Linked DNA regions of Homo sapiens: all the other regions are linked to region 1. The links are contacts of gene promoters, found by promoter capture Hi-C in blood cells and fetal thymus (Javierre and others, 2016). All regions are on one chromosome and are shown on one strand. Each heading gives the region's core, a stretch centred on a gene start or on the middle of the fragment in contact. The rest is flanking DNA. Distances are from core to core; before and after follow the strand shown.

The links. The method cuts DNA at HindIII sites, captures the fragments that hold promoters and counts their contacts. A CHiCAGO score of 5 or more calls a contact.
Region 2: a fragment that was not itself captured here is called in contact with the fragment with the promoter of ALKBH1 in region 1 in 1 of 17 cell types (total B cells); the score reaches 5.4 in total B cells.
Region 3: a fragment that was not itself captured here is called in contact with the fragment with the promoter of ALKBH1 in region 1 in 1 of 17 cell types (monocytes); the score reaches 6.1 in monocytes.
Region 4: a contact is called between a fragment that was not itself captured here and the fragment with the promoter of ALKBH1 in region 1, in 1 of 17 cell types (monocytes). The highest score is 5.5, in monocytes.
Region 5: a fragment that was not itself captured here is called in contact with the fragment with the promoter of ALKBH1 in region 1 in 10 of 17 cell types (monocytes, naive CD8 T cells, activated CD4 T cells and 7 more); the score reaches 19.7 in monocytes.

Annotation. Positions count from the first base shown.
Region 1 is chr14:77,706,722-77,709,311 of GRCh38, forward strand. ALKBH1 (alkB homolog 1, histone H2A dioxygenase) reads right to left here and starts at 1,302. Exons shown (of 6, transcript NM_006020.3): 1 at 1,101-1,302. The coding sequence starts at 1,283. SLIRP (SRA stem-loop interacting RNA binding protein) reads left to right here and starts at 1,382. Exons shown (of 4, transcript NM_031210.6): 1 at 1,382-1,487. The coding sequence starts at 1,391. RefSeq lists an enhancer at 936-1,265. The HindIII fragment of the contact is 1,367 bases long and covers 175-1,541 here.
Region 2 is chr14:77,488,583-77,491,172 of GRCh38, forward strand. The region is part of intron 1 of ISM2 (isthmin 2); the gene reads right to left. Among named protein-coding and RNA genes, the nearest start is that of ISM2, 8.9 kb to the right of the region's middle. RefSeq lists enhancers at 2,076-2,577, 2,578-2,590. The HindIII fragment of the contact is 1,873 bases long and covers 345-2,217 here.
Region 3 is chr14:77,506,661-77,509,250 of GRCh38, forward strand. It overlaps SPTLC2 (serine palmitoyltransferase long chain base subunit 2), which reads right to left. Exons shown (of 12, transcript NM_004863.4): 12 at 1-2,590. Among named protein-coding and RNA genes, the nearest start is that of ISM2, 9.1 kb to the left of the region's middle. The HindIII fragment of the contact is 2,530 bases long and covers 21-2,550 here.
Region 4 is chr14:77,546,067-77,548,656 of GRCh38, forward strand. The region is part of intron 9 of SPTLC2 (serine palmitoyltransferase long chain base subunit 2); the gene reads right to left. It also overlaps the pseudogene RN7SL587P. Among named protein-coding and RNA genes, the nearest start is that of ISM2, 49 kb to the left of the region's middle. The HindIII fragment of the contact is 4,311 bases long and covers 1-2,590 here.
Region 5 is chr14:77,563,345-77,565,934 of GRCh38, forward strand. All of the region lies in intron 5 of SPTLC2 (serine palmitoyltransferase long chain base subunit 2), which reads right to left. Among named protein-coding and RNA genes, the nearest start is that of SPTLC2, 52 kb to the right of the region's middle. The HindIII fragment of the contact is 3,238 bases long and covers 1-2,590 here.

The sequences.
Region 1 (2,590 bases), core at 52-2,551:
AAGCGCTCTGGAGAGAAAAAGTATATTATTATTGGGGTGTGGACTTTCTGTATTTTGACAACTCTAAGACCACTTTTTTTCCCTAACAAATGAAGGTGCTGAAAAGCTGAGCTCAAGTATGCAATCATTAACACTTAATACTGTAGCATCCCAATTTTATCAGAGCTGTTAGGAAGCTTGGAAAGAATGCCTCATCTAGACATCTGTGGACAACACCAAGAGCAAATTAAGGGACTGCATATCCTCAACGTTAAAGTGGATTGTAAAGAAAGAAAATATAAATTGGACTACAGTTTTGGTTCCCCGTTTTCCCTCTTGCCTGTTATGTTCCCTTAAAAAAATAATTTTTAAAAAATCTATTTACTTGAGAACAGGTTATGAGACTGGCTAATTTTTTGTATTTTTGGCGGAAACGGGGGTCTTGCCATGCCCCAGGCTGGTCTCGAACCCCTGGGTTCAAGCGATCCACCCGCCTCGGCCTCCGAAGTGCGGGATTACAGGCTTGAGCCACCGCTCCCGGACTGTGTTCCCCTTCTTAATCTCCATGGGGAAAAGCTGAGAGAGAGAACGGTGCCTGTATTCCATATATACTTGTTTGCCATTTATTTTCAACACGGAGGGATTCTCAGAATCCTTCAATGACCTCCTTCTAAAAGAGCCAGAGGAGAAGACAGGGACTAGTTTTACGCACAGTGGCTTAACAAACAGCGCCGCATCCCTGTCAGTTCTGGGATTCCTCGGGAGTGGTTTTTTTTAAGCTGCAGAAGTCTACCCTACCGTCTACAAAGACGTTCTATGGGGTTTTACAAAAACCCAAACAGAAATGTGAGGAGACAGTTACAGTAAGAAATAAACACGGATTCCCAGGCTCTTTTGACTGAGCGCCCCCGCCAGGAATGGCCGCCTAAAGAAACAGGCATCTCAACGCTTTATTGCTAAGTGTGACGGTTAGTGGGGAGTTCGACTCTGCAGCCAAAGGAGGTCAGGAATCGTTCAATAACAATCGGTCTGGAGGTGAAAAGAGGCGAAGAAGACACGTAAGTCCCTCCAAGACGCGGGGCAAAGCGATGGAGAGACGCGCGCCACTCCTCTCTCTGTACCTTTTGGGCACCAGGACCCTTGCCACGGGCTGCGTGGGCCGCCGAGAAGTCGATGACCCCTTCCAGGTCTGCGGTCCCGGGCCGGCTCTGACGGTAGAAGCGGAAAAGTTTCCGAAAGGCGTCCTCCCCGGGCTCAGTCGCCAGAGTCGCCACAGAGCCCACGGCCGCTGCCATCTTCCCCATCTCGCGGCCTATACCCTCTGATCCGGAAGCAGATTCTCTCGTGTTCCGGATCCGGAAATTTTTTCCGGGGCCGCGACCTCGGCTCGAGAAGGTGCTTTAGTCTGAAGATGGCGGCCTCAGCAGCGAGAGGTGCTGCGGCGCTGCGTAGAAGTATCAATCAGCCGGTTGCTTTTGTGAGAAGAATTCCTTGGACTGCGGCGTCGAGTGAGTGATGGAGATGTGGGAGTAGTGGAATTTTTAGGTCCAAGTGATCCTCAAAGCTTCTGCTTTTTGCAGGGTACTTAAGTCAGCGTGGTGGCTGAATTAGGAGACTGCTCCTGAGCATGCAAGTGAGCAGAAAGAAATTTTGTTTGCAGTTAACCGTTTAGGGATGTCCCTTGAGCTTTTGGGGTCACGAATGCACCGGCTCTTGCCTTTAGGAGTGATTTGGTGTAAAGATTTATTACTTGGTAACCAAGATTTACAATTTAGAAGGGATAATTTTGACTGTAGTGTGGAGGATGGATTCAAGGTGGCAAGATTGTAGGCGTGCAGAGGAGCTAAAAGGCAATTTCATTAATTTACTTAAAACGTGAGGACCTGAATTAGGGCGATGGTAGAAGGATGGTGGTCAGATGCATTAATGTTTTAAAAGCAAATTAGATGCCGTTTCGTGATGGCTTAAGTGGGAGAAGTGTACGGAATAAAGGAAAGGGAGAAATGATTTCTGGGTTTTTAGCATTGGTGAATTGTTTGTTTAGAAGTTAGGAGCAGGCCAAGAGAAGATGAGTAAAGTTTGAATGTGTTGACTTTGAGAAACTTGTGAGGTTTCCGTCAGGCAATTGGACAAAGGTTGTATATCATTGTGGCTGAGAAGTGGACTCCGAAGCTAGACCGTTGGGGTTAGAATTCCAACTTGGCCATTTAATCGTTGTTATCACTTGAATAACTGAAGTTAGTATGGGAAAAGGGCTCACAACTGGGCCTCAGTTTACTCATCGATAAAATGGAGTCAATAATACCCAACTCATAGGATTGTTGAGAGGATTGAGTTTATATGCAAACTTCTTAGACTTGTGTTAGATACAGTGTAAGTACTCAGCAAATGATAGTTATTTTCACGGTAACTAAAATTGAAACTTACGGGAGAGGCCTAGTCTACAGATAAAGGTTGGAATAATTAGTTCTGAAATCTTTCACCACCTTCAATTTTTGTCAGCTGCAGTTTTGAGATGAGGTTTTTATATTTGCTTACCAACATGTAAACATTCGTGGTCACTCTTTTTGTAGATATTCATGTTTCAGGTCAACCCCTGGAAACAAAATGG
Region 2 (2,590 bases), core at 31-2,530, 220 kb before region 1:
TACTTAATCTGCCTTAGTTCCTTCCTCTGTAATTTAGGGAAACACCAGCGCCTGTCTCATAGGGTTGTTGAATTAGAATAGTACCTTGTAGGTGCTAAGCATGCAATGAACGTTACCCAGAGGTGGCGACAGATGGTACTCAGAAGGCAGACAGAGGAGCCATCAGGGGCACCCCCCTCGCCAGGCAACATGCCAGTTCTTCACACCTCATTCAGGTCCCCCGAACACTGCTGCAAAATCACTCGGCAGGTGTATCCTCATGGCATTCTGAGGGGAATTCTGAGACTCCAGGTTGTTGAAGAACTCCAGTCCTGTCTCACAAGACCACCTCTCTCCATCTTCTAAGCTTACATGTGGAGTTGCATGCATGTACAAACACACAAGGCCATTCTTTTGGGGGGTGGTGTCACTGCCCAAATAGAGATACATCTGAGGTATATCTTTACCAGTTCTCTCTCTCTCTCACCCCTATGCTTACCTTCCCAGGCTTGGCCGGGCAGCCCCTGACCCACGTGTTTCCAGTTAACACAACAGAGTCCCAATCCCCACAGACCCTTACTGCATTGCGTGAGCCCGCCTGCTAACCTGTTTCAGCCCCTTCACAGTTCCCTGTTCTCCCTTCTCCTTTGTGCCTCAGGGGTCAGAAACTTGTTCTGGATAATTAAATTCAGTCACCAAGTGCAGGTCCCGCAGCCCTAGCTCCTGAAGCCCAGGCCCAACCACACAGAGCCAGGCTGCACACTAAGTCATGCTGGTGGGAGGTGCTGGAGACCCAGCACACAACAGCAATTGCCTCTTTAGCCAGGCCTGAGACCCTGCATACAACACAGCAATTGCCTCTTTAGCCGGGCCTGAGACCCTGCCTACAATAGCAATTGACTCTTTAGTCAGGCCTCTTTAGCCACAGGCAGAGGAATAGGGCTGGATTTCATTCTCCCTCAACTACCTTCCTGATTGGTAAGTACTATTCTTTTTTTTTAAGACTGGGTCTTGCTATGTTGCCCAGACTGGCCTCGATATTCCTGGGCTCAAATAATCCTCCCACCTCAGCCTCCTGAGTAGCTGGGATTAGGTATGTACTATTCTAAGCCAACCCACCCTGGCACCCAGCGGAGGCTGCAAAGCTCCTCACTGTAATAAGAGTAGTGCTGACCAAGCATAGTGCTCCCCGCACAGGGCCGGCTTCATGGTGTGCAACCTGTGTCTTTGCACTGAGCCCCATATTTAGTTTAACGCTCTGCTGTTGCCCTTTGGAAATAGCTAAGAAGCCTCATATTTTCTTTTTTTATTTTAGTTTTTGAGATGGAGTCTTGCTCTGTCGCCCAGGCTGGAGTGCAGTGGCACGATCTTGGCTCACTGCAAGCTAAGCCTCCCGGGTTCACGCTATTCTCCTGCCTCAGCCTCCCAATTAGCTGGGACTACAGGCGCCCGCCACCATGCCCAGCTAATTTTTTGTATTTTTAATAGAGATGGGGTTTCACCGTGTTAGCCAGGATGGTCTCAATCTCCTGACTTCGTGATCCGCCCTCCTCGGCCTCCCAAAGTGCTGGGATTACAGGCGTGAGCCACCACGCCCGGCTAATTTTTTGTATTTTTAGTAGAGATGGGGTTTCACCATGTTAGCCAGGATGGTCTCAATCTCTTGACTTCGTGATCCGCCCGCCTCGGCCTCCCAAAGTGCTGGGATTACAGGCGTGAGCCACTGCACCCGGCCAAGAAGCCCAACATTTTCATTCTGCACTGGGCCCCACAAAAAATGTGGCCAGTTGGCTTTCCCAGGTAAAGGCAATAAAAAAAGAAAGAAAAAGAACGGAGCCAGTCTTGCCGATCACCCTATATGTACAGACTCACTGGATTCTCACAACAACACTTTAGGTAGGTGTGAGCATCATCTTCACTTCATAGACAATGCAGCCAAGGATCAGAGAGGTAACGTAACTTGCCTGGAGTCACACAGCTAGGGGCTGGCAGAGTGGGATTTGATGTCAGTGGTATGGCTGGAGTTTGTGCTCTTAAGCCTTGTGCTTTGCTAACTCCAGGCAGTGGCTGCACCTTCTGGTTTGCCGCCTGCTGCTCTGCGGTGCTGAATGTGCTGGATGAACAAAACACTATACAGGATGTTCAACTCTCCACGTCCATCCTTCCCTTTGATCCTCGTAACAACCTGAGACTGAGATCGGAGAGGCTGGAGACTTGCCTGAGGCCTCTGGGCAGCCAAGCTTCCAGGCCTCATTCCTGTCCTTCTCTCTCTCCCTCCCTGGGGGCTTTTCCAACCCTTTAGAGACTGAATGGTCTGGAGGGATAAGGAAGGCCATAGCTGAGGTCCAGGAAGGTGGCCAGCTGCAGGAGAAGGCTAGCAGGTGAGGCCACAGGCTTGGCACCACACAGACCTAGGTTCTAGTTCTCCCCTGGCACTCACTCACTGATTGGGCTAGAAAGACCCCACAACCAGATAAAATCAGCCTTTAGGAAATACATCCTTCTCATTGCCACCCACCTGGCAGGTGAGACCTTGCAAATCTCCGGCAATCCAGCCCCTGCTTCCAGGCAACTGGCTGGACAATGGACCGGGACTGAAGTGCTGGGGGGG
Region 3 (2,590 bases), core at 36-2,535, 200 kb before region 1:
AGACCTGGGCCAAATGACCAAGCTTTGCAAAAGAAACCTGGGAAGAGCGTTGGAAAAAGCAGACTCTGAGTTGGCTTGAGTCTCCTCGTGCATAGAAGCATTCACTCATCCATGCAGATGGCAACAAGGCAGGACACTCAGAAAGCATAAGATCAAGGTACTGCTCTTATCTGCACCTTTCATTCAAGCTCCCCTCAAGTGCTCCAAAAGAACAGAGCTTTGGGTATTGCTTCATTAAGAACACAGTAACTGCAGTTTAAAAGCCATTGCATTCTTTAGGGTCAGTTTATTATAACTTATCCTACCAGAAAGAATCACAGTTTAAGGCCATTTATCATGTGCACTATGTAGTAAACAAAACCTTGTCCCCAGCTCCACCAAGCCACTCCCAAGGGTGGACTGTGAATGTGACACTTCCAGACTCACCAGAGATTAGAAAAAACATTTCTATTAGGGTCTTAACCTAGCCCCTTTGGTTTCCTCCCTAGAAAAGAGCTGCTTAGAAAACAGATGTCACTGGAAATGACAAAAGGAACAACAGTATTTTCTATACATTAAAAGCAAAGGGATCATTGGCTAGCACTAGCATTTATTCTGTGTGATAGGGAAGCCAGCCCTCTAATTTGGCTCTCTGGCTGGGCACATGGCAATGGCTAGGGGCCTGGGCACACCTTTTTTTTTTTTTTTTGAGACAGAGTCTCCCTCTGTCGCCAAGGCTGGAGTGCAGTGGTGTGATCTTGGCTCATTGCATCCTCTGCCTCTTGGGTTCAAGCAATTCCTGTGCCTCAGCCTCCTGACGTAGCTGGGATTACAGGCATGTGCCACCATGCCCGGCTAATTTTTGTAATTTTAGTAGAGATGAGGTTTCGCCATGTTGGCCAGACTGTTCTCGAACTCCTGGCCTCAAGCAATCTGCCTGCTTCAGCCTCCCAAAGTGTTGGGATTACAGGTGAGCCACTGCGCCCAGCCATGGGCACATATTTCATGTGGATAAAGTTGAGGCGAGAAAAAGACATGTTTTTCTCCACATGGAAGGTATTTTTTAAACTGGTTTAATGTATTAAGATGGCTGCTGGGCACTGAGCATCCACGTGAAGCAAGTAGCAGGGTATCTGTAGGTTCTGGGACTGAAAAAAAAAATCCCTGTAAGTTCTTGGCTTAGTAGCCAAAAAATAATCTTTGCTTTTTATACCTCCCCATTCACAACCCCTTTGGGCTAAGCTGATTTAAAAAACATTTTTTTCTTAGATGGGGTCTTGCTGTGTTGCCCAGGCTACGCTCAAATTCTTGGGTTTAAGCAATCCTCCGGCCTCAGCCTCTCAAGTAGCTGGGATTGCAGGCTGCATCCGCACCCAGCTCCTAACAATTTTTTTTCCCCCTCTTATTGAGCCAGGGTCTCACTCTGTCACCCAGGCTGGAGTGCAGGGGTGCAATCATGGCTCACTGCAGCCTTGACCTCCCAGGCTCAAGTGATTCTCCCACACAGGTGGGACTACAGGCAGGCACCACCATGCCCGGTTAATTTAGAAAAAAATTTTTGTAGAGACAGGGTCTATCTTGCCCTGGCTGTCCTAACAATTCATAATCTTCATGAATGTGGACAGTTTGAAGGAAAACCACTACTCTCACCTCTTTTTCTAAGCACACGGTTATAGCAAGTAGAGATTAAAGCTCATTGGCTTACCTAGAACACCAAGAGAGGAAAGATACCTTGGGAATTAGGTCATAGCAATGCTTCAAACAACAACTGCCCATAACCCTACAAATCCTTGCAAAACAACAGTTACTCACATTCTTTCTTCACGGCCTACGGCATGACTGGCAGTTCTGCACTGTTGCCCAATCCCGGATCACTAGGAACCAGAAATCCTTATCAATTTGGAAAAAGGGGAAAAACATAAAAGTAGTGGTAAATGTCATCACTTTTTTCCTCCCTGAGAAATCAGGAAATCTCTCCATGGAAGCCACTCATCCCCCTGGTTTTCACCAATAAGAAGGAAGCAAAGTGTATAACACACTAGAAAATTCAGCTAGGCTGAACTAGTTGAGAAATTTAGATGCAGGCTCCCTTAGGTAATGAAGAAATTTGAAAAAAAATTTTTTTTAAAAGCCAAAGGAGCTAGCTTAAGCCCCTAATGAAAAGCCTCCTCCTGAAATGTAAGGCTAAGTGTACAAACAGAACCAAGGCGTCTGATATGCTATCTTCAAAGCCCAGCACCACCATATATTGGTTTTCTCTAGAGTTGGAATTTTAAAAATCAAGAACTTGAAGGTACAGAAAGAAAGAAAGGCCAAATAAAGGAAGAAGGCATTACGGAGACAAATCACTGGAAGCATGTTCAACTCCTTGGTGTTTGAAGAGGCATGACACAAACATAGAGCCCTTAGTGGTTGTGTAGGATGCTTCTGTTCACCTTGATGACTACAGAAGCAAGAATCCTGTTTTAAAATCCTTGCCCTATCATGAATGTTTACGATAGTGACTAAAGCACTACGATGGCTGGATTCTTCAAACAAATAAGCAGTACTTTGGGGGTTATGGAGACTAGAAGCTTTTTTTAAAGGTAAGGATTTCTTATCCAAAGCAAAG
Region 4 (2,590 bases), core at 68-2,567, 160 kb before region 1:
TTAGCAGAAAATTAGAAACAGATTATAAAATAGTCTGTTTTAATAAAATGCTAACTATCATCATGCAACCTCAGAAGTAGAAGCAGATGGAGTTAGAAAAGCTACATTCTAGTTGGAGACAAGATATTGAGAAAACTTGTTCCATACATGAGCTCAAATTTCTCCACCTGTAAGGTGGTCATATTGCTTGCTGATTTCAGAAGGCTTAAGCCATTGGTTAAAAGGCCTTTTGTGCTCAATAATCAAGAAGCTGCTTTAAAAAATAATCAAGAAGCTGCTTTGATTGCTGATAATTTACTAGAGTGACAGTATCCACAGAAAAATTTCATTTATATAGAAAGTTATTATATAAGAAATCTAAAATATGAGTTTGCTTCAAAAACTTAGCTGGTTTAAGGAAGTTTAAGGTTTTAGGGGAGTGGGAGTGAGTGAAGGAGGAGGTTGTAGAAGAGAATGGAGGAGGAAATTGAGAAAAGACAAGCTGAACAAAGGAAGAATTTATCTGTGCCTCTGAGACTAGTTCTTCCCGGGAATCTTACCCCTACCACTGGACTGTTTTTTCAAAGGCAAAGATCACCTATTGTTCAACTCTGCATCTCCCACACAGCATATCTACCACTATGTAGAGAGTAGTTGCTTGTTGCTTGATAAGTGTTTAACAAATGGTAAAACACTTTTTTTTTTTGGAGATGGAGTTTCGCTCTTGTTGCCCAGGTTGGAGTGTAATGGCGCGATCTCAGCTCACCGCAACCTCCTGTGTTCAAGCAATTCTCCTGCCTCAGCCTCCCAAGTAGCTGAGATTACAGGCATGCGCCACCACGCCCAGCTAATTTTCGTATTTTTATTAGAGACAGGGCTTCTCCATGTTGGTCAGGCTAGTCTTGAATTCCCGACCTCAGGTGATCCGCCTGCCTTGGCCTCCCAAAGTGCTGGGATTACAGGCATGCGCCACCACACCCAGCTAATTTTCATATTTTTATTAGAGACAGGGTTTCTCCATGTTGGTCAGACTGGTCTTGAATTCCCGACCTCAGGTGATCCGCCTGCCTCGGCCTCCCAAAGTGCTGGGATTACAGGTGTGAGCCATCGCACCCGGCGGAAACAAGTATTTTTTTTTTTTTTTCCAAACAACAGCATTCTAGGCAGAAAGTCACAAAACAGGAGGAAGCGAGTCTGATTCCCAGCATCAGATAAACTGCTAAACTCTACTGTGGGTAAGAACAAAACTGTGCTTACCAGAAAACTTAATTTTTATTTCGATGAATTTCTAATAGTGAAATAAATTACTTTAAAGCACAACAAAGAAGAAAGTCAACACCCAAACGTTCTTGGGCTCAGGAAGTATGGTGCTTGACGGGAGGGTTAAAAGCTGTCAGCCCTGAAGACAGGCAGGAAAGTCTCTCTTTATGACCCCCTCCCAGCAAGGCTGTGTTTTTTCAACACTTCTAACCCTTCTGCATGGGAATCTTGGAATGTTTTTTTGTTTTGTTTTGTTTTAAAGAGACAAGGTCTCGCTATGTTGCCCAGGCTGGAGTGCAGTGGCTATTCACAGGCGTAATCCCACTACTGATCAGCAGGGGAAGTTTTAACCTGTTCGTTTCCAACCTGGGCCAATTCACCCCTCCTTAGGCAACCTGGTGGTCCCCTACTTCTGGGAGGTCATCATACTGATGGCTGAACTTGGTGCAGACACGTCTCTGGCACAGTGTGCTACAGCCCAGGACTCTTGGGCTCAAGCGATCCTCGTGCCTCAGCCTCCTGAGTAGCTGGGACTCCAGGCATGTGCCACTGCATTGTCCTGGAATGTCTTTTTTTTTTTTTTTTTTTTTTTTTTTAAGTGTCTCAGTTCTCTTAGTTTTTGACAGTTCCCCGGTATTCTCAAGGTGATCATTTAACACCTAATTAACAAGTCTATTACTGGAATTAATTCAAATGAGCCAAACCTAGTTTTAATTAAACCTCAATCTGCTCAGGGTAGTCTTTTTTCTCCTACATCAGTAGCTGCCTGCAAGGACCCAGTTCCTTTCAAAACAAAGAAGTACAAAACTCTATAAAGCGTTCTGACATTATTTAAAAATGTATCTATTAAAATGTACCTATCTAGTTAATTTGGTTCCATAATTTGGTCATTCTGGCTTAACATTCAACTATTCAAGCAATGTTACAATAAAGTACTTGAAGAACCCACTGATTTTCTGGTATTGCCAATCATGCGTGCATTCATTCAGTCATTCAATAAATTTACTGAAAGGATCCTAGATGTCACACACTAAGCTGGGTGCTATGCATGTTATTATTAACTACACCTTTGGACAGAAATAAAATACATCAAAGCACAGCTCTGGAAAATGGAAAAGCAAAATTTTAGTTGATTTGGTCAAACACTTTGCCTTGATTCGTATGTAGATACTACAGCTAAATTTCCATTAGTGGACACGGATTAGTGATGTGTAAAGTAAAAGTTAGAATTTCAAATGTCTAGTGGAATTTAACAGAATTTCCTAGGCCTCATTTTTTCTACTCCCTGGCCTGTGCTCAGTATTCCCACTCCAGGTACAGGCATCCTGGCAGCACAATTCCCATTCATTAT
Region 5 (2,590 bases), core at 41-2,540, 140 kb before region 1:
ATCCATGCTCATGTCCTGCAGTTGGCCCTGTGGGACCTGCAGGCCCTCCATATACTTGGGTTTTGTGTTCCATGAATACTATATTGTGTGTATGTGTGTGTGTGAGATGGAGTCTTGCTCTTGTTGCTGGAGTGCAGTGGTGCGATCTTGGTTCACTTGCAACCTCTGCCTCCCAGATTCAAGCGATTCTCCTGCCTCAGCGTCCCAGCTAGCTGGGATTACAGGAGCCCACCACCAGGCCCAGCTAATATTTGTATTTTTAGTAGAGATGGGGTTTCACCATGTTGGCCAGGCTGGTCTTGAACCCCTGACCTCAGGTGATCCACCCGCCTCAGCGTCCCGAAGTGCCAAGATTACAGGTGTGAGACACTGTGCCTGGCTGAAAACTGTATTTCTGCTCCATATTTGGTTGAAAAAAATCCACGTGTAAGTGGACCTGCATGGTTCAAACCATGTTGTTCAAGGGTCAACTATATATATACATGCTTATTTATTACAGAATATTCTTAAAGGAATACTTAAGAAACTTGTAACAGTAGTTGTGTTTGAAATTTTTATTATGCACATAGTATTTATTAAGATAAAAAAGCTACCTGGTTAAAAATGTACAGATTAAAAATGAAGTGGCCAGGCATGGTGGCTCATGCCTGTAATCCTGGCAATTTGGGAGGCCAAGGTGGGTGGATCACTTGAGGTCAGGAGTTCGAGACCAGCCTGGCCAACATGGCAAAACCCCATCTCTACTAAAAAGAAAACACAAAAAAATTAGCTGGGCGTGGTGGCAGGCGCCTCAAATCTCTGCTACACAAAAGGCTGAGGCAGTGAGGCAGTGAGCCGAAATTGTGCTGCTGCACTCCAGCCTGGGCAACAGAGGGAGACTCTGTCTGGGGGGAAAAAAAAAAAAAAAAGGAGGAGGAGGAGGAAGAGGAGGAAGAGGAGGAAAAGGAGGAAGAGGAGGAGAAGGAGGAGAAGGAGAAGAAGGAGAATAAGGAAAAGGAGAAGACTAGAGCCGGCAGTATCAATAGACTCCTGGCTTTCAAATCTTTATGCATGCATACACACACACACACACACACACACACACACACACACACACACACACACACAGATGTGTGTGTATGCATGAGTTCGCATATATACATACATTTTCTAGCTCTAGTCACTGAGAGGTGAGAAGCAGTGATACTCCTTCAGCAATAAACACACCTAGTTCCCAGACCTTGGTTTCTAAATATCATTCTCCAAAAAAAAGAACCAGCACTTCTTGGAGAACTGGTTAATTCCAAAACTGGGATAGGGAAAATATAAGATGATCCTGGAGCATTTTATCATGCCAGAAAGTATAAGAATGCTTTAAAAAAAAAAAGTTATTATATATTCAAAGGACACAGGTACCCACCTGAAGCAGCTCCCAATGGCCAAAACTAAAACTCGAGCAACAAAAAAGAAGCAATTGTGTTGAATTATAAGCCAAATAATAAAAATATTCACAAACCCACAACGACAGAAATAAATAAGGGAGAAGCAAGAACTCTTCCTTACACAAAAATTCTAATTAGTAAGTATAGAAAGAATGAGAAAAATAGAAAAATCACCATTAGAACACCAAGGTAAGCCGGGTGCGGTGGCTCACGCCTGTAATCCCAGCACTTTGGGAGGCTGAGGTGGCTGGATCACCTGAGGTCAGGAGTTTGAGACCAGCCTGGCCAACGTGGTGAAACCCCATCTCTACTAAGAAATACAAAAAATTAGCCGGGCATGGTGGTGGGTGCCTGTAATCCCAGCTACTCAGGAGGCTGAGGCAGGAGAATTGCTTGAACCCAGGAAGCAGAGGTTGCAATGAGCTGAGATGGCGCCACTGCACTCCAGCCAGGGCAACAAGAGCAAAACTCCATCTCAAAAAAAAAAAAAAAAAAAAAAAAAAGAACACCAAGGTAATAACTGCCACAGGCAAGATCACAGATGCATACTAAAGTTAGTGGGTGAAAGTTTAATCCAAAATGCTATATACAGTCCCAAAGTATCTCTGCCACAATATATGGTGATTACAAAGAGAAAAGCAGTAAGTTGGTAGTAGAAAATCCCCGCTGACACCTGAGACAAGCGATTAAGATTTACATCATCAGTAATATGTATCAAAACCACATAGTCTCTCGCATGATTCACTGAGAATGGTATCACTTCTGTGGTAGCTTTCTCAATAACGCACGGACTCAATCAAACCATAACAACACAACAGACAGACCCAAATTGGAGACATTCTACAAAATAAGGGACCAGTACCCTTCAGAAGTATTAAGGTCATGAAAGACAAAGAAAAACAGGAACTATCCCAGATTGGAGGAGACTGAGGAGCTACAACAGCTAAAGACAATGTGGATCCTCACCTGGATCCTGAAGCGGAAAAACTGGTGAAAACCAAATACGTCCTGTACTTTAGTTATAGTATTGTGTCACAGTTAATTTCTTAGCTGTAAGAAACAGTTCCACTGTTATGCAAGATGTTAACATAAAGGGAAGCTGAATGAATGGTATACAGGAACTCTCTGTACTCTTTTGTAACTCTTTTTGTAAGTCTAAATTAAAGTTT